Regions from separate parts of the Homo sapiens genome. Here all the other regions are linked to region 1. The links are contacts of gene promoters, found by promoter capture Hi-C in blood cells and fetal thymus (Javierre and others, 2016). All regions are on one chromosome and are shown on one strand. Each heading gives the region's core, a stretch centred on a gene start or on the middle of the fragment in contact. The rest is flanking DNA. Distances are from core to core; before and after follow the strand shown. Region 1 holds the start of HS3ST1 (heparan sulfate-glucosamine 3-sulfotransferase 1). Region 2 overlaps CLNK (cytokine dependent hematopoietic cell linker). Region 3 overlaps CLNK (cytokine dependent hematopoietic cell linker). Region 4 has its middle 14 kb from the start of CLNK. Region 5 overlaps LINC02498 (long intergenic non-protein coding RNA 2498). Region 6 has its middle 19 kb from the start of LINC02498. Region 7 holds the start of LINC02498 (long intergenic non-protein coding RNA 2498).

What was found. Contacts are between HindIII fragments. The CHiCAGO score rates a contact against its expected background, and 5 or more counts as called.
Region 2: a contact is called between a fragment that was not itself captured here and the fragment with the promoter of HS3ST1 in region 1, in 3 of 17 cell types (naive B cells, total B cells and fetal thymus). The highest score is 9.7, in naive B cells.
Region 3: a contact is called between a fragment that was not itself captured here and the fragment with the promoter of HS3ST1 in region 1, in 3 of 17 cell types (total B cells, naive B cells and fetal thymus). The highest score is 8.4, in total B cells.
Region 4: a fragment that was not itself captured here is called in contact with the fragment with the promoter of HS3ST1 in region 1 in 1 of 17 cell types (naive B cells); the score reaches 5.3 in naive B cells.
Region 5: a contact is called between a fragment that was not itself captured here and the fragment with the promoter of HS3ST1 in region 1, in 1 of 17 cell types (total B cells). The highest score is 8.7, in total B cells.
Region 6: a contact is called between a fragment that was not itself captured here and the fragment with the promoter of HS3ST1 in region 1, in 3 of 17 cell types (total B cells, fetal thymus and naive B cells). The highest score is 6.1, in total B cells.
Region 7: a contact is called between a fragment that was not itself captured here and the fragment with the promoter of HS3ST1 in region 1, in 3 of 17 cell types (naive B cells, total B cells and fetal thymus). The highest score is 7.0, in naive B cells.

The regions. Positions count from the first base shown.
Region 1 is chr4:11,427,435-11,430,297 of GRCh38, forward strand. HS3ST1 (heparan sulfate-glucosamine 3-sulfotransferase 1) reads right to left here and starts at 1,460. Exons shown (of 2, transcript NM_005114.4): 1 at 1,265-1,460. RefSeq lists an enhancer at 1,116-1,335 and a silencer at 1,426-1,605. The HindIII fragment of the contact is 3,893 bases long and covers 1-2,793 here.
Region 2 is chr4:10,679,551-10,682,463 of GRCh38, forward strand. All of the region lies in intron 1 of CLNK (cytokine dependent hematopoietic cell linker), which reads right to left. Among named protein-coding and RNA genes, the nearest start is that of CLNK, 3.8 kb to the right of the region's middle. The HindIII fragment of the contact is 5,691 bases long and covers 1-2,913 here.
Region 3 is chr4:10,662,667-10,665,366 of GRCh38, forward strand. All of the region lies in intron 2 of CLNK (cytokine dependent hematopoietic cell linker), which reads right to left. Among named protein-coding and RNA genes, the nearest start is that of CLNK, 21 kb to the right of the region's middle. RefSeq lists a silencer at 434-611. The HindIII fragment of the contact is 2,360 bases long and covers 218-2,577 here.
Region 4 is chr4:10,697,377-10,700,294 of GRCh38, forward strand. It overlaps a transcript of CLNK not described here. Among named protein-coding and RNA genes, the nearest start is that of CLNK, 14 kb to the left of the region's middle. The HindIII fragment of the contact is 4,621 bases long and covers 1-2,918 here.
Region 5 is chr4:10,751,883-10,754,582 of GRCh38, forward strand. The region is part of intron 2 of LINC02498 (long intergenic non-protein coding RNA 2498); the gene reads left to right. Among named protein-coding and RNA genes, the nearest start is that of LINC02498, 16 kb to the left of the region's middle. The HindIII fragment of the contact is 1,886 bases long and covers 429-2,314 here.
Region 6 is chr4:10,717,288-10,719,987 of GRCh38, forward strand. It overlaps a transcript of CLNK not described here. Among named protein-coding and RNA genes, the nearest start is that of LINC02498, 19 kb to the right of the region's middle. The HindIII fragment of the contact is 4,395 bases long and covers 1-2,700 here.
Region 7 is chr4:10,735,719-10,738,527 of GRCh38, forward strand. It overlaps LINC02498 (long intergenic non-protein coding RNA 2498), which reads left to right and starts at 1,873. Exons shown (of 4, transcript XR_925377.3): 1 at 1,873-2,059; 2 at 2,388-2,809. The HindIII fragment of the contact is 802 bases long and covers 915-1,716 here.

The DNA.
Region 1 (2,863 bases), core at 210-2,709:
TGAGGCTGCTCCATGCTAACAGGAGACTGTTTCTCGGAGCGCAGCGCAAAGACAGTGGATTTGGAGTGGCCTCCCTAGAATCCCCCCAAAAGCATCTTGGCACAAGTTGTAGATAAAAATAGCTCATGATAACATTGTGGGAAAGGGAGGAGCGAGACTCGCGCAAGGCGAGGCAAGGGTACCACTGGATCTGCAAAGGAGGAGGAAGAGGGAGGATGCAACCCTTGGCCCAAGAGAGCGCCCTGAGTGTGCGAGGAATCGCTGGCTCCCAGGGGAGGGAAAGAGATGGAAGACCTATAGCGCCTATAACTGCAGAGTTATAGACCTATAACTGCAGAGCCCAGCACACCCCATCCCGCGCCGGCACCCGGCTTTGGCTCCAGCTTCTTCTTCCCATCATCCGCCTACGTTCTGGGTCTGTCCTCCGCTTCCTGGGACAGGCTGGGGCTAGAAGGAGGAGCAGCGCGCCGTCCGCCCCCTGGCTGGTAGAGCGCACCTGGAGAGGTCAAGCTCCGCGAATAAGACCCTTCCTGGGAGCTGGGGTCTAGGCGTTCCAACCGCGGGTTCGCACCCCGCCATCCCTCACCTCCATCCGCTGCCACTACCCAAGGGCCCGGAAATAGAAAACCACGAAGGGGGAAAAAAATCAGTAAAAAGTAACAAGAAAAAAATCAAGACCCTCATGTAATTGGCATTAGGGATGAGAGGTTTATTGTCAGGGCTGTCACCTCAATCTCTCTCTTTGGGAGATGCCTATCTCCAACCAAATGCAAAGGCAAACCCGACCAAGGCTTCTCCACCCCCAAAGGCTCCCTCAGCCGAGTTACTTTTGCGGGCTGTGTCCTCGCCCCAGTTTCTGGCCCCAGGTGGTACCCAGGATCCGTTGAGTGCTGCGCTCTCGCTGCCCTACAGGGTCCTATGGTGAAGCTGCGGTCGCGAAGCGGCCGGCAGGAGCGAACCTCACGACTCTGCAGGGGGGGAAAACATCCAACCCAGTAAGAGTCAGAAATCTGGGTCCCTGTCCTTACAGATCAACCGGTCCCTCGGGACTTCCAGAGCAGAGGTGCTAGGGCAGGAGGTGAGGAGGATGGGAAAATCCCCAGCCTTTGCTTCCTGGTTCCCTCTGCATCCACTCCACCTGCTCCAGCCTCGATTCTTCTTAGGTTCTGCACTTGCCCGAAGTCCAGAACGCCAGACAAAGGCACCTCGGAGCCCTCTACACCTGCGTCCTGCCACTCTCCCACCCCGCGCGCGCCGCACTCACCTGAGCCGCGCCTCTGTCCAGCCCGTCCGGCGCCCTAAATAGGCTCCTAGGCTGGGCCATGGGCAGCACTGCCGAGCACCCGCGGCGGGTAGAGCAAGTTTCTGGATGGCCCGGGGCAGGCGGGCGGGGAGAAGGCGCAGGCACCCACTGAGACCCGGCTGTCGTGGCGGCGACTCCTGGCTGCCAGGGCGCAGAGGACCTTGCAGGCGGGCGTTTTGGTGCTCAATCCCGAGGAGGGGGAGGAGCGGGAGGAGGAGCGGGAGCAAAAGGAGGGGACGGAGGAGGCCGGGCCCGGAGGGAGAGCGCGTTGGGCAGAGGAGGATCGCGAGCGCCCACTGCTGCCCGGCCCGCTCGGGTGCCGCCCAGAGTCCGGCCCGCTAGGTGCCTGGTGCTCCGCTCTGCGCTCAGCTGCTCCGCACAGCCCCGCCTGGCACGCAGCTCCAGCGGCTGGTCGGGTAGTAGTCGGTCCCGCCCACCCGGTGCGGTGGCCCCTGGGGTTTCAGTCCAAGGGGAGGGACCAGCGCTCCAAGAAGGTGAGGCTGCTGGGATGGGTGACTCCGCCGTCACTGCAAACACGGGACGTCCCGTCTACTCCCTTACGCCTGCTTGGTCTGAGCCCGAGTCTACCTCTTCTCTAAGTCGCCAGCTCGGCACTTGTACCCGGGACCTGTGCTCCTCCCACGTGAGTCTGCACCATGCGTATTCCCTTCCTGGCAGGTGACCCACCTTAGGCGCTGGCGCTCCTTCCGCCCCCCGGGAAGCAGGAGGTGCCATCCTCTCCAATTCGCTCTGCAGCCGGACTGGGACCGGAGCGGCGGCCTGGGCCAGAATCCGCGTGAGGAGCCGGCTTCAAAGAGCGCCCTGTCGCCATTGAACACTCCTTTTCCTTTGGTTTAGCGTCGGAGAGCGGACGCCAATTTGCCAGGAGAGCGCGGAAAATTCAGCTTTTTTTTTTTTTTTTTTTTTTTTTTTTTTCCGCTAGTGCACTAGGATTGCAAACGTCAGCTCTGAAATAAAAAGCAGGATATTTCTGCCCCGCTCCTCTATTCCGGAAGCTGGGAGGTTCTGTGGGAGAAAGGACCTGCACCCAATAACTCAATTTAAGATTTAAGGTTTTGAGGGGCGTGGGGTTGGAATCGCCTTGGAGAAACGGGTTTGCCTGCTTACCTGAGCCAAAGGAAGTTGCCCTCAAAGGCAGGTCAGCAATCATACCCCGCCAAAAGCAAATGCACATCAAAGTAACTTCCTTTAAATGAGATTACTGTAGTTTCCATGTCTTCCACATTAGTAAATAAATATTTGGAAGACTTCGAATTTGTGATTTACGTTTAAATATATTTCACCAACATTGTTTAATTAAAAAAAAATCCCATCTAAGAGAAGGTTCCTATAGGAAATTGGCCCTTTAACTCATACACAGATTACCCTCGGCACTTTCAGAAAACAACACAGTGACCAGTATATTCTGTCTTTTTGATACAGCCAGAAGCACCCTGAAAGCTGAGACCTAACTGTGCTTTTGGAAAATAAGCTTTTAGGAGTTGAATGACCTTGTCTACTTCTTTTAGTCAGAATAATGTTGGCATGTCTATTTTAGGT
Region 2 (2,913 bases), core at 46-2,545, 750 kb before region 1:
AAGAAACTACCATCAGAGTGAACAGGCAACCTACAGAATAGGAGAAAATTTTTGCAATCTACTCATCTGACAAAGGGCTAATATCCAGAATCTACAATGAACTCAAACAAATTTACAAGAAAAAAAACAAACAACCCCATCAAAAAGTGGGCAAAGGATATGAACAGACACTTCTCAAAAGAAGACATTTATGCAGCCAAAAAACACATGAAAATATGCTCATCATCACTGGCCATCAGAGAAATGCAAATCAAAACCACAATGAGATACCATCTCACACCAGTTAGAATGGCGATCATTAAAAAGTCAGGAAACAACAGGTGCTGGAGAGGATGTGGAGAAATAGGAACACTTTTACACTGTTGGTGGGACTGTAAACTAGTTCAACTATTGTGGAAGTCAGTGTGGTGATTCCTCAGGGATCTAGAACTAGAAATACCATTTGACCCAGCCATCTCATTACTGGATATATACCCAAAGGATTATAAATCATGCTGCTATAAAGACACATGCACACGTATGTTTATTGCGGCACTATTCACAATAACAAAGACTCGGAACCAACCTAAATGTCCAACAATGATAGACTGGATGAAGAAAATGTGGCAGATATACATCATGGAATACTATGCAGCCATAAAAAATGATGAGTTCATGTCCTTTGTAGGGACATGGATGAAGCTGGAAACCATCATTCTCAGCAAGCTATCGCAAGGACAATAAACCAAACACCGCATGTTCTCACTCATAGGTGGGAATTGAAGAATGAGAACACATGGACGCAGGAAGGGGAACATCACACACTGGGGCCTGTGGTGGGTTGGGGGGAGGGGGGAGGGATAGCATTAGGAGGTATACCTAATGCTAAATGATGAGTTAATGGGTGCAGCACACCAACATGTCACATGTATACATATGTAACAAACCTGCACGTTGTGCACATGTACCCTAAAACTTAAAGTATAATAATAATTAAAAAAGAAGACAAAAAAGGGACAAAGGCCAAGAATCTAAGGAAGGTTTGTTTAAATATAAAATAAACTCATAATAATAATGCTAAGAATGATGATAATAGCCACTACCATTTACTTTGTATTTAATAATTACTAGTCACCATGATATGCATTTTTATGTACTGAATCTCATTTCTCACCACAAATTCGAGCAGTAGATATTTTTATTCCATTTTATAAAGGATAAACAGAGGTTCTGAGGAGTTAAATAACTTGTCTAAAACCATATTGCTAGGAAGTAACTGATTTCAAACCCACACTATCCATGTCTCAACGACTGGATGGCGTGGTATAGTGAAAACAGCATGTATCAGAAGTAGGAGTTTGGGATGGGGACTGTGTGGAGGTGTCCTGTGTAAAGAGTCCAGACAGATAAAGCTGATCGGGAGATCCCTAGACTTGCCCATGAGTGAGGACGTCCTGATATATATATATATATAAATTTCTACAGGTAACCATGGGGCAGACTGGCTTTCCAGGTGCCTGCCAAGGCATCAGACCACCCATAGCTCAGCAAATCCAGCTTTTGAAATTACACAGCTCTGACTTAGTGCTCAACAAGCTACTGCCCAATATCAATTTAGTTTCCTGTGTACATTTGTCTCCTGGGAGGGAATATGCCAATCATCTGAACTTATAATTTGAGTACACTTGAACAAAATCACCAAAGATGGATACATAGGTCAAAGTACCAGAGTGAACTGACCTCTTGAGCTCCATCAACTCTGTGTGCCTTGGATACAATTAGCTTTCTGGGTCTTCAAAACTGATGGTGAAATGTGGTCCTTAGGCAGTCCACAAAAATTCAGCCCTCTCAGAGTTTGGGCCTAGGCTATTAGTCAGCCCTTATCTTTATCTTACACGAAATTGAACACAGAACCTACCACTGTTAAAGATTATCATCCAATCACATGGATATTAAATTTTCATGTTGTATCTAGACCTTTTGGCTCATCTTAGTTCAAATGACAAACCACAGTACCATTTAAACACAATAGGATTTTGATTCTCATGCATAAGTGTTTAGGAAGCAGTGTTTCAATTAGTATCACCAATGAAATTTAAAAGAAACAACTAAAATACATATTTTGCTAATGCTTGTGGTGTATCTGGGAGTTCCTTAAATGCTGTTGACTAGTTTGGAAGACAGTGATTGATGCCCTGATCATGAACCTGGGAACATCAGCAGGGTACTCATGGAGCACCATGCCGAGAGCAGGAGCTCGGGGCTCGGGTGGACCTGGGTCTCATTTCTGGCATATCCTCCTATTCATTGCATGAAATGGACAATGCATGGAGCCTGCCTGAACTTCAGAATCCGTTTTGTAAAGTAAGAATTAAGTACACCTACTTAAAAAGTGAGAAATGATGAGCGTTTCTTGTCTATCAGCAACACTTAAATGGTAACCTGTAAGTCATTGCTCTTTGGAAGACATGATTAAAATTAAGCAGAATAATCACAATAATGATTCCCAAATATTCTGCCCATAAGAGTAACAAAAAATAAATAATAAACACAAAAATTGGTCCTATGATAGCTCTATTCCACAATTCTGTTTGTGTGTGTGTATGTGTGTGTGTGTGTGTGTGATTTTTTCGTTATTGCTGATATCTAACCTGATGCTTCTCAGTTTTATTGGTAAAATCGTGAATGTTTGGTTTAATCTGTTAAAAATCATAAATAGAATTTAAATTCAGGTATTTATCTCTCTGGTTAGTAATTTAGCCGCTTTGAACACTTTATGTTTCTTTGTCATGCTAGGAGGGTAGGTACAGCCTAGAAGAACTCTGCAGAACTCAAGTCTTGGCAGATGTTGGCAGTAGCTTATGACAGTGGATATAACTGCTCCATGTACTAGGATTCAGAAAAGGATGCTTCTAGATCTCTGTCTGCTACTCT
Region 3 (2,700 bases), core at 148-2,647, 760 kb before region 1:
TTGTTATTAAATGAATGACTTAAAACAATGAGTTTTAAAAGTAGATTTTCTAAAATTTTAAGATATTACACATAGATATAGAAAAATAAACTAAGACAACTGTAGCAAGTTAGTGCTGGGTGTTAGGATAATTGGCAATTTTCATTCTTCTTTGTAATTTGTATATTTTCTAAAATTTCCGTCAATACTGGAGACAATTTCACCAATGAACAAAACAAGCTTAATAACTGCTTAAGCCTTATTTCAAAGTGGACACTCTGGAGACCTTTGCTCTCTGATCTATCCCCAATCTGGGATGTGCAAGAGTGACTTTCACCCAAATTCCCAAAAGAGCCTGGGTGGCCAGTGCAGGGCATTGGCTTACTGGAAAGAGCCCAGAAGCAATCACTCAGGTGACTTTGTCTCTTCCAAAGCACTCAGAACCACAGCGTCAAGGTTCTTATCAGTCCTGTCCAGAATGATGAAGAGGTACTGGAAACCAAACCCCAAGATGCCCTTATCTAGCCCCAGCGGTGTAATGGGGCCGCTAGTGGGTCTGTCTGCTCTTCTCTAATAGCACCGAGGAATGAGGCTTTCTGAAGTTTAATGGATTGCTAGGGAAGCTGCAAGTTTTGTTGCAGGGAAAGTCAATGAAAAATAGCCTGCTAATTTCCGAAGCAATTTAGAATCATGACATCCGGATCCCTTCTTAGTACTTGTGGAGTTTTCTCATCACTCTCTATGTAATACGGAAATAATTCTCTTTACATATGGCTAATGCTCTTTGAGGGCAGGGACTAGATCTTATTCAACTTTATAAATGAGGTGTGTGAAATGTATACTCAATAAATAAATTTGTATATGATTTATGTATACTCAATAAATGCTTTTGACTGAACTGATACAATCATATAAAAACATATGTGTGCATGTGCTTGTATTGTATGTCTGCATACATATACATGCATATATACCCATAGGTTCACATACACATGTACATATACAATATATATTTCTATATCATCCATTCATTTATACTTATAAAATTTTCATTGTAAAAGTGCTTAGTGAGAGATAGTCCTATGATTTAAATGTTTGTGAACCCCTTAACTTCATATGTTGAAAGCTAATCACCAAGGTAAGGGTATTAAAAGGTGGGGCCTTTGGGGGCTGATTAGGCCAAGAGGGCAAAACTCCCGTGAAATGAGATTAGCACCCTTATAAAAGAGGTCCCAGAGACATTCCTTGCCTTCTTTACCATGTGAAGACACAGCAAGCAGACGGCTGTCTATGAATCAGGAAGCACTCTCACCAGACACTAAATCTGCTAGCCCCATGTTCTTGGACTTCCCAGCTCCCAGAACTGTAAGAAATAAATTTCTGTTGTTCCTGAGTTACCCAGTCTGAGCTATTTTGTTATAGCCACCCGAGAAGACTAAGGCAGATAGTAAGGAATTAGTCATAGTTACAAAGTCTGCTTAGGATTCCAGGTTATAAAATTGTAAGAAATTCCAGATTATAGAATTATGAGACATTATTCCACAAAACTGGATGTAGATTACATTCAGTTGAGCATTAACAAGTAAAAAAAAAAAAGGAATGATGTCTGACTATTCTGGTTTCTTTGCTTTGGGGAAGGACACTGAAATTGTTTTTGTTTAAAGCCTCCCTGATGATTCTAACGCTCCTTCAGGTTTAAAATCTACTACCTTGAATTGACTGGGTTAATAATTTTGACAAAGGAAGTGAGAACTACCCCACAAGGCACAGCAAAAGGAAAACCTCTGTGTGTGTGGTGATGGGGGGCACACATTTCCAAACTACACTCACACCCAGCCTGACATGTGGCTCCTTCTCTGAGTCATGCCTTGGCGACTGCTGTGGATAAGTTCTCAAGTGTGCCAGGAAGGAAACGGTGCTGGGAACTCCTGTTCTAGTTCAGCACTTCTCAGGCTTTAATGTGTCCAAGAATCAACCGAGGATCTTGTAAAAGTATGGATTCCGACTCAGCATGCCTGGGCTGGGCTGTAGCAGCTGAGATTCTGTGTTTCTAACAAGCTCCCTGGTGATGCTGACACTGCTGCTGTGCAGCCTGCCCTTAGATCAACAGCATCTCCCAGCTCAGGACACCCTGGACAGGAAACCCGAAGGTGGAGAATAAAATGTGGAGTGTACTAGGGCATCTTACCTTTCATTTGTGTGGTGCCAGCTTATGCATTTCTCTTTAATGTGTAAGCGTACTGATGGAGGCGTTCTAATTTTAATATTTACTTTTTACTTTGGGGCAGGCCAGCAGCAATCCCATACGGATTGACTGGCCTGAGGGTGCACAAGAGGAAAGAGTGAAGAAGAGTTTGGGACTAGGGGAGGAAAAGGATGCTCTGAGCTTTAGGAAAGAAGAAGAGTTATTCTTCAAGGCAGGTTCCTAATGTTGAGGTGTCAGATAGTCAAGTGTGAAGGCTCCCCGTGGACTCATCCTAATGGGAGGAAGCTAACATTTGTGAAATGGTGACGGTTTGGCTGTCCTCTGGCCTACGCATTGCCAGCTTCAAATCTAAGGTGACTGTAAAGCTGAAATCACAAAGTTTCCCTTTGGAAAGCTTGGTGAGAAGCCATGTTCAACAGAGACCAACTCCCTGGCTAAAAGACAAAGCCACTGAAAGTCCTCATAAAAGGGGAAAACCTCTCCTCTTACAGAAGAGGCCCTTGGCATAGGGTGGA
Region 4 (2,918 bases), core at 82-2,581, 730 kb before region 1:
AGAAGAGCCCGCATGACTGCCTTAATGAGGAAGACTCTGCTGGAACTGGGGTCAGGGTCTCCAGGAAATTCCAGTCCATCATCTCCCTTGGTGAGCAAAAGAAGCCACTGGTGGTCCTTGCAAGTAGAAGTGCAATGAAAACAGGATTATGGCGATGGATGACAGTGTGAGAGAGAAAAGAATTATCACCTTCTTCCCCTTTCCCAAATAATTCATTCTCTAAGTTCAGCAGTCCAACAAGAATGGCTTCTCATGCCAGAGTAGACTCTTCTTGTATTTAGGACGGCCACTGGGTGTGTAGAGAATAAATTTGCTTTTAATTTTCTGTCTGCTAGCTCCTCCTTGGTGAAGCTGCCTACTGGTTCCCAAACCTAAATTGGCTCTTCACTCTCCTGGGAACATTGAACTGTAACCAATCCTTCTACATTTTGATCTACTCATTCGAACAATAGCCACCTTGCCTTTGCTTTTTTGAATTGTGAGAATAAAACGAGGCTCATCAAAGAATCATGACATATAATATGAATCCAAGAAATTGTAGATACTAATCTTCATCCTCTCCATCATCATGATCATCAAACAGAACCATGAAGACCAGAACAGGATATATGTCTATGGAAGTGCTGACCGTTTTGTGTTAATTTCTGTAACATAAGTAGGTATGTGGGGGTAAAAGCTGCAATAAGCAGATTGTAGTTCGGAATTAAGACCTTTATGAGAGGTGAACATCCATGAACTATTAACTCAGGAGGTGGTTTGTAAATTCCTTGTCTATATAGTCATGTGTCTGTAAATTGGAAGCCTCTGGTGGTGAGAGTGGTGTCATTGGTGGTGGTGATTTTACACTAGATAACATTAAAGACAATTTTCAAACTAGCAATTATAGGGTTTTATTAAACATTATTCTTAATACATTTATAAACATGGTTAAGTTTACAGGAACACTCTGAGGGCAAGGTCCATACTATAGTTGAATCTTTGACCCTTGTACCTGGTGAAATACCCATGCCATTATTACGCCCTTAGTAAATGTTAATTGCTAAGTGAGTACATAAATAAATAAATGGGTGACTACTGGAATAATAAAATGTGACAATATATATAAAACAGGTTTGTTCATATTTCTGAAAATCTGTGAAGCTAATTTTGTTCTTGGTGCTCTCTGCTTTTTCCTTTCATGCTCAGATCCACCTGTCCCTTCTGTCTCTTGATAGAGCTCCTTCCAAAATTCTCACATTTCTCAGATATTTTCACCCCCCAACCAAAATCTTCAAGGAAAGGTCAGGGAACATCTTTCAACTTAAGTAGTGAAAGAGCTCTTGTGAACCCTAATTGCAGCAGTTAGTTTTATGTGTCAACTTGACTGGGCCATGAGGTGCCCAGATATTGGGCCAAACTATATTCTGGGGATTACTGTGCAGGTGTTTCTGAATGAGATTAACATGTGAGTGAGTAAAGCAGATTGCTCTCCCTGCTGCAGGTGGGTAGGTCTCATCTGATCGACTGAACACCTAAACAGAACAAGATGGCTGAGTAGGAGGGAACTCTTTTTGTCATGGCGGCTTGAGTGGGGACATTGGTCTTTTCCAGCCTTCAGACTCAGACTTAAAGTTGACTCTTTCTTGGTCTCAAGGGTGCCAACTTTTGAACTAGCACTTACACCATTGGCTTTCCCAGTTTTCATACCTTTGAACACACACTGGAACTACACGTCAGGTTTCCTGGGTCTCTAGCTTGCTGATGGCAGATCCTAGAACTTTCTCAGCCTCCATGATCGTATGAGCCAATTCCTTACGTTTCTTTCTCTCTCTCTCTGTCTCTTAAACACACACATACACACCACATATGTGTGTGTATACACACACATACACACCACGTATGTGTGTATACACACACACACACCACATACGTGTATACACACACACACCACATACGTGTATACACACACACCACATACGTGTGTGTATACACACACACACACACAGTCATCCTTCCTATTTGTGAGGATTGGATATAAAAACCCATGGATGTTCAAGTCCCTTACATAAAATGACATTGTATTTGTATATAACCTATGTACATCCTCTCTGTCTCTCTCTCTCTCTCTCTCTCTCTCTCTATATATATATATATATATTTTTTTTTTTTTTTTTCTGAGACGGTTTTGCTCTTGTTGCCCAGGCTGGAGCACAGTGGCACCATGTCAGCTCACTGAAACTTCCACCTCCCAGGTTCAAGCAATTGTCCTGCCTCAGCCTCCAAAGTAGCTGGGATTACAGCTGCCTGCCACCACACCCTGCTAATTTTTGTATTTTTTAGTAGAGATAGGGTTTCACCATGTGGGCCAGGCTGCTCTTGAACTCCTGACCTCAGATGATCCATCCGCCTCAGCCTCCCAAAGTGCTAGAATTATAGGCATGAGCCACGGCACCCCGCCACTCCATATATTTTAAATCAGCTCTAGATTACTTATAATACTTAATACAATATCAATGCTATGTACATAGTTCTTATACTGTATTTTTATTGGTATTATTTTTCATTGTTGTACTGTTATTTTCCTCTAATATTTTTTAATCTGTGGTTGGTTGAAACTTGTGGATATAAAGGACTGACTGTGTGTGCATATGTGTGTGTGTGTGTGTGTGTGTATATATATATTTCCTATTGGCTCTGTTTGTGTGGAGAACCCTGATACACTCATGAAGTTTTTGCATTTCAATAGAAATCAGAGAAGAAACAGGTTTCACAAAGGGAAGAATGGCTAGCTATGGAATAAGGCATAATGAGATGAAGAAGATGCTGACTTTGGGGGTAAAGAAACTGAGAATTACAATTAGGATAAATGAAATAGGCTACATAGTACATCCAATATTAGAATTATTCAGTAAATGCTTTGGGAGCGATATGATTATTTT
Region 5 (2,700 bases), core at 122-2,621, 680 kb before region 1:
ATGCAGGAATTTGTGAGGTGTATACAGGTCTGGAGAGGGGGTTCAAACAGAGGCAACTGGAGGTGCAAAAGCAAATGGGCATGGATTTATTAGCCTGATTTGATCATTCCATAATGTATACAGGTATTGAACATTACATGGAACCCTATAAATATATACAACTATTATTTGCCAATTAAAAATAGAATCACGCTTAAAAAATACACAAATGGGCACGGACCAGCATGATGTCTGAAGAAAGACGACAAAAGGAATTGAGCAGTGCTGCAGTTGAACATGAAATGGGTGAACAGGTTCAGCCTCTACATTTTGCAGTAGGGCTGCAAAACAAGAGATGAGACAAGGAAATGAATATTAATGTTATTGAATACTGAGGTGGGATCAACACAGACACTAGAAAACACTCAAATACCTAAGACTTATAGTTAAGCTTGGCTTACTCCAGTTCATTACTTTGGGATGATTTAACTAAATAAACCATTTAAAAATCTTAAAACATTTTTAATTAATTTCCAGAGGCATAGTGGATGCACTTATATATCCCCTATCCAAATATTAATCCCCACTCATTGTTAAGTCTTGAAATAAATACAGATACTTTAAATCCTGGATTGGTAAAGTTAACATTCATTCTTTGAAGAAAAAAAGCAAAAAAACTCAACACTGTTAAATCATACCTCTAATTAAAATTAGGAAGAGATTTAAATTAATATCCAGATATAAGCCAACAGCTCAAAGAAATTAATACAAATGTCAGGAAATGGTTATATTTTCCAGCAAATACCATTAATATATTCTAAACACACCTGCTTCAGACTGCAGTTGACCGTGCAGGACGTCACTCCTGTAATCACTTAGAAAGGGACTGACTGAGCAAAGACATTTCAATTCTGGAGACTTATTCTCAAAACTTGTATTTGACGTTTTCAAAAATGAAGATAGGTTAAATTAATGGCCCCAGCTGTATCCCTGAAATTCCTCTCCATGTGTGCCAAAGATCTTTTTGTTTGTTTGTTTGTGTTTATTTTAAATGGAGTCTTGCTCTGTTGCCAGGCTGGAGTGCGGTGGCACGATTTTGGCTCACTGCAACCTCCACCTCCCGGGTTCAAGCAATTCACCTGCCTCAGCCTCCTGAGTAGCTGGGACTACAGGAGCACGCCACCATGCCCAGCTAATTTTTGAATTTTTAGTAGAGATGGGGTTTCACCATGTTGGCCAGGATGGTCTTGATCTCTTGACCTTATGATCTGCCCGCCTTGGCAAGATGTCTTTTTAACAGCATTCAAGATATTCATCAACCTGGCAGAAATTCTGGGGACAAGTTATGCTTTTTGCCATTAAGGCATGCCTCATTTGCAAACCTTGAGTCCACAGACTGCCCTGGATGGACAAATTGGGATTGTGTCCAAGAAGGCCGGAGGTTGGCCCTAGGATAAACCATACCTCCTCTTCCTATCTCTAAAGTTGAAATTGAATTGTCATGAACATTACTTCGCGTGGTGGCCGTGTGTGCACAATGTATACGGAGCTCTGTCCTCTCATTTGATTCTTTCCCTGCTGCCCAGGAGAGGGCCCACCTCCATTGCCTTTCCCTCAGACTCTCACATGGGCTTGTTAGCTCATCTTCCCCTCTCCGGTGTGGCTCTACTCCAAGTCCTTCTTTATGCTGCTGAACTATTAACTTGAATGAGTATCTGAATAATCTTTTATGAACTTCCTGTTGGCTGTAGGATAAATGATCACATGCTTTAGCTCTGCATTCATAATGAGACCCAGCATCTTTTTCCAAAAATGGCCTTCTAGTCAAGCTGCTTCCAGCCTCCAGGCCATCCCAACTCTGTCCCTGCTCTGTCCCTTTGAGCATGCTGACTCTCTGCCTGATAGTTCACGTTGCTGTTTCTTGCTCAACTCAAGAAACAAAACAAAAATGCTTCCATCGAGAAACTTCCCAAGATTCTCTGAAAGGTGGATAGCCTGACCCTTGCCTCCTGCATAAGTGGCCCTCTCTAAATTGACTGGGGACTCCTTGAGAAAGAACCTATGCTTTATTATTCTTGGTCACCAGAGTGAAGCCTAGAACCTGGCATGAAGTCCATGTTTGGTAAATGATGGCTGGATTCCACTGGAATTATGGGCCAGGTGTCAACCACGCTGAGATACATGTGAGTGGCCTTTCCTGTTTCCTCCTGGCAATTCTGAGAGGCTTAACTGAGCTGAGCAAGAGGCAGAGTTCAGTTAATTTTGTTCCATGATCTGCAGGCATGTGATAGGGGATGGAAGATCACAGTCATTCAAAGAAGGACTCGCAGCATGAAGCTTAAAGCCATGCATATGGGCTGCATCATAGGCTGATCCCACAGGCCCTGGGGATTTTCTCCTCTCAAGCTGTGAGTCTCTGTGGCAACCACATTTCCCAAAGCTTCTTTCAGGGGAAAGAGACTATTTTAGGTAATGAAGACTTTGGTCACATTTCAAACATACCATTCTTAGGGAAAACAAAAATTGGAGTCTTTCTTCCTAAAAACTTTCCCATTCTCTTTACTCCTCTTTGTACTTAATCCAGTACCTCTGTGCTGAAGGAGGCTGCTGGAGCCAGGAAAGGACTCTCTCTAACACCTGGAAATGCTCCAAAATGCCTATGGTGGGTGAAGTGTAGAGCAAACCCCCTCACTTCACTCCCAAAGCCTGTCTCATTTTGGC
Region 6 (2,700 bases), core at 119-2,618, 710 kb before region 1:
TCAGAGGGGGTGGAGTAAAAAGCCGTGGCCGGGTGTGGTGGCTCACGCCTGTAATCCCAGCACTTTGGGAGGCCGAGGCGGACAGATCACTTGAGGCCAAGAGTTTGAGACCAGCCTGGGCAACTTAGAGAAACCCCGTCTCTATTAAAAATACAAAAATCAGCCGGATGTGGTTATGCACGCCTGTAATTCCAGCTCCTCGGGAGGCTGAGGCAGGAAAATTGCTTGAACCCGGGAGGCAGAGGTTGCAGTGAGCTGAAATGGCGCCATTGCACTCCAGCCTGGGTGACAGGGCGAGACTCCAAAAAACAAAACAGAAAAGCTGTATGAGGCACTCCCACCCCACTGGTAAAGGGAGGTATCAATGGAGCCAGGTGAGAAATCTGGACTTCAATACCCACACTATCCCTGGGAGCCTCTTTCTTTCCCTTGTCAGAGTGGTATCAGTGGAAACCAGCTAAAACACGAAGTTTAAGTAAAATCCAGAGTCTCATAATATAATACCTGGAATATGCAGTTTTCAATAAAAAAGTCATTATACCAAGAACCATAAAATTTCAGTTGGTGAGAAAAAGACAATCAATAGATGCCAACAGAGATGTAAGACTTATCTGATGAAGATTTCAAAGAGTCATCACAAAAATGCTTCAATGAGCAATTACAAACATGCTTGAAACAAATGAAAAAATAAGAGTCTTAGCAAAAACAGCAAAGTCTTATAGAAAATAGAATAAATAGAGAAGAACAAATGGAAATTTTAGAAGTGAAAATACAATAACCAAAATTAAAATAAAACAAAATTCTATACAAAACCTCAATCTATGGGCTCAACAGCAGAACGGAAGAGTCAGAGTAAAGAATCAATGAACTGGAAGTAGAACAATTAAAACGTGTTGGATCTAACATTCATGCCATTGGAGCCCAAGAAAGAGAGGAGAAAGAGGGAAGGGTTGAAAGAAATACTCAGAGAAATAAATACTGACAACTCTCCCATTTTGTAAATACATAAATCCACATATTCAAGAAGCTAAATGAACCACAAACACAAAAAACCCAAATAGTCATTTTCTGAAAACTAAAGACAAAGAAAAAATCTTGAAAGCAGCAAGAGAGAAACAATATCATATAAAGAAAAAGTACGTTGATTGGCAGTGAATTTCTCATCGGAAACCATAGAGACCAGAAAAAAAGTGGCACAATATTTTTTAAGTCCTGAAGAAAATAAGATAACTGTAAAGCCAGCATTTTATATCTAGTAAAATATCTTTCAGGAATGAAGGAGAAATTAAAATATTCTCAGATAAAGAAAAACAAAAAAAAAACTAGAAGAATTCGTCACTAGCAGAAGCAGACCTGTTTTAACAAATGGCTAAAGGAAGTTCTCTAAACAAAACAACAAAAAAAATATGTTAAGAAATCTTGGAACATCAGAAAGAAAGAAATAACACAGTAAGCTAAAATATGGATAAACAAAATAGATTTTTCTTGTTCTCTTGAGTCTTCAAAATTATGTTTAATGGTAAAGCAAAAATTACAACCCGTCTAATATGTTCTAAATGTATATAAAGGAAATATTCATGATAATTATATTATAAATGGAAGGTGGAAGGAGAGATGGGAAAGGAGGTAATTTTTCCATATTTTATTTGAACTGGTAAAATGACAACACCAGACTGTGTTGACTGTAGTAAATGTTGAATGTATAATGCTAATACCTAGAGCAAGCACTAAAAATAATAAATAAACCTCTTCAAAAAGATACAGTCAAAAACTCCATAGATAAATCAAAATGTAATTCTAAAAAAGTTTTTAAATAACACACAGGAAGGCAGGAAAAATAAAACAGAAATGAAAACAGAAAGAATAAACAGAAAACAGAAAATAAAATAGCAATCTTAAGCCCTAACGTATCAGTAGTCATACTAAGTGTAAATGGTCTAAATACACTAATTAAAAGACAGATATTAGCAGAGTGGATTAAAATATATAGGCCAACTATATGCTTACTAAAAGAAACTCATGTCAAATATAATAATACAGGCAGTTTGAGAGTAAAAGGATGGAAAATGTATAAATCTTTTAATTTTAATTAATTTACAAAGATTAATCAAAAGAAAGAGTGACTGTATTAACATTAGATAAAGTAGACATCAGAGAAAAGAAAATTACCAGAGATAGAGAGGAACATAATATGATAAAAGGGCCAACCCACTAAGAAGACTTAACTGTCCTAAATGTGTGTGCATACACACACAAAGAAACAGAATTATAAAATATATGCACTGAAAATGGATAGAATTAAAAGAAGAAATAGATGAATTCACAATTGCAGATGGAGACTTCAATACTCTTCTCTCCATAATTGATAGAAAAAACCCAAGAGAAAACTATCAAGGGTATAGAAGAACTCAACAAAACCATCAACCGTAGCATCGAATCAACCTTTGTAGAATACTCCATCCGATGATGGCAGAATAACATTCTTCTCAAGTGTCCATAGAACATATATCAAGACAGACCACATCCTGGGACATAAAACAAACCTTGGCAAACTTAAAGTATTTAAAATCATACAGAGCCAATGTGGAATCAAACTGGAAATCAGTAACAAAGATACCAGAAAAATCCCCAGACACTTTCAAACTAAGCTACAATTCTAAATAACCCATGGGTCAAAGAGGATGTCTCCGTGGAAATTGA
Region 7 (2,809 bases), core at 66-2,565, 690 kb before region 1:
TACCAAATAAACAAATAAGCAAATAAAACAAAAAGAACACAAGAAAAATTTAGAGGTGCAGGATATGTTTATTGCCTTAATATTGGTGTTTTTTTTTTCTTGTTATTGTTTGTTTGTTTTGAGACAGAGTCTCGCTCTGTCACCCAGGCTGGAGTGCAGTGGCATGATCTCAGCTCACTACAAACTCCGCCTTCTGGGTTCAAGCAATTCTCCTTCCTCAGCCTCCCAAGTAGCTGGGATTACAGGTACTCACCACCATGCCCGGCTAATTTTTGTATTTTTAGTGGAGATGGGGTTTCACCATGTTGGCCAGGCTGGTCTCAAACTCCTGACTTCAAGTGATCTGCCTGCCTCAGCCTCCCAAAGTGCTGGGATTACAGGTGTGAGCCACCGCACCCAGCCATTGCCTTAATATTGTGGTGATGGCTTCACAGGTATGTCCAAAATCATCACATTGTATACATTAAATATGGGCAGTTTATTGTATACAAATTAGGCCTCGATAATGCTTTAAAAAAATCTCAATAAATAAAAATGGGCAGTGGTATGAACAGCATGGTGCATCCATGAAAATTCAAGCTGTTTTGTGGGCCAGGGTCATTTCAGGTCGGCATAGCCTGTGACGGGAAGAGTGAGGCTGAAGAGGTTGCTGGGGTCTATGTCATCATGAGCACACCTTCTCTATGTTAAACAGTTGAGATCTTATTCTGCCAGTTATGGGGTTCCTGGTCTTTGTCCTATTTATTAGCATCAGGGTGAAATGTGAGATTATAAAATAAGGCTTGGCAGACAGGAAAGACAGAATAACAAGAACATGAGGGAGGACAGGCTTAGAAATTAGTGGGTGGCAAGTTAGCAGCCTCAGCTCTTTCATCAAGGAGCTGGGCTCAAGCTACATGTTTGGCTTTTGCGGAAGCTTCTATTTGAGGATAGAAGGATAGCCAAGAAGGAAAGTTGGGGGCTCAGTCTTTGAAAGATTGGGGATCATGGGAGTAATGGGTTATTAAAAGAGGCTTGAATCCAAGGGTTGGGGCAGCAATCTAGTTATCAATCTTGGAGCACAGGGGACAGGAAGGAGACTCAGGCTTAGAGCAGTACTGGACCATCATGAGAGCAATTGTCCAGCACCTGGCAGAAGGTTGGGTAGCCAGAAAAAAGCTGAATTGACACTCAGAACTTGCAGCTAATACATTACCTGTAACCTTAGCAGAGCAAAGGGGCACACATTATGCCACTTCAGAGACCTGAGTTTCAATCCCCACCAGGCCCTTTGTGCCTACATGAGTTTGAATACATATGGCTGTGCCACAGGAGACTGAGCAGCCGATTCAACAAGATGAGAGTAGAGACTGGTGAGCAGCAAGGGCAGAAGAGCCCCTCCAGTGGCAGGGGGAGAACCTGCGGTTGTCTTGCCAGCTTTGCCTGCTCTGTGCTCTTGGCCTCTCCCTCATTCTCATAGCCAGGGCTTTTGGAATTGAAACAGAAAAGTGGGATTTAAGCAGTTCCAAAATGACAGTCCTAGGTTCACTATCAGGCAAATCTTGTGAGCTCCAGTTTTGATTAATACAGCATCTGGCCCACGTCCCCAGCCTATGTCCAAATGGTTCAGGTATTGCCCAGCCGAACGACCTTGGCAAGTGTCAGGAACTCTCTGAGCACCTAATTCATCATCTACAAAACAAAGAGAATAATTCCAACTTAATAGAGGTGACATAAAGCTTTCTTAAGGATATTGGTGAAATGCACATACCACCCACTACACATCTTTACTAAATGCTCAACCAACGTGATGGTTGCTACGGTGACAATGATGGTGATTATGATGTGTGCTGACCTCTTGTTCTCTGTGAGTCAGACTTTGGTAGCCTCCTTACTTGCTCCACTTGCTTCAGAGAGAGAAGTGCGGGTTTGCGGTTTAGTGAAGGAGCAAGGCTCATGTGAATAGAAGAATCCAAGGTAGAGCAGGAAGAGAAATCCAGCTAGAGAAAGAGGTGGAAGTCAAAATAAGTAGACTCTTATTTTAAATTTTTAATGGCTTCTTGGTGGCTTCAAGATAAAAGTAAGTATACAATTACAATGCAAAGATAGTATTCAAATGGGGAGTTGAATGGGGAGTTCATTAGGTAAGTTGAGTTAACTCACAGGATTGATTCCTTTTCATGACATAAAACCATCTGTGTTTTGGGTAGTGTGAATTGTGAATTGAGAACTCCCCCTCGCCCTTCTCTCAGCCTGTGTTACTTTTTCTTTATCTTTGACTCTGTATCATTAACATTTCACATATCTGATTTTATTATAATTTTCTATTTATCTCATTTTCCCACCAGACAATGAATTCTTTGGAGGTGAGCACTACATGTATATTTTACCTTTGTTTCTCTGCACAGGATAGACAATGAGGAGCTTTGTGTTTGGGAAAAGAATAAAAGTCAACTGTAGCAAAACCTCTCAGAAGTAGGATTTATAAACAGTTCTCAAAGGATGCACATGAAAATGTAATTTCTTGGGAAAGTGGCAAACAGAAAAGAATCAAACCGCAGTTGTGTGTGGCAAGGATAAATATGCAACGCACCATCAATAGGATTTGTTGGGTGAATAAAAAAGCCTTTTAGCCAACAATATGTAAGCAGAAGAATGGAGCAGGAGTTAGAGAGAACCCTCAAGCAATAATGGAGGCCACTGGAGAGGCAAGACTGCCAAAGGCTAAGTTATTGACCCAGTATTTTTAAAACTGCCTCCGAAAAGAAGCCTGAACGAAAGAAAATAATTTGTGCTATTAGAATGTATTTTTCCTTTGTGTTCCTATCTA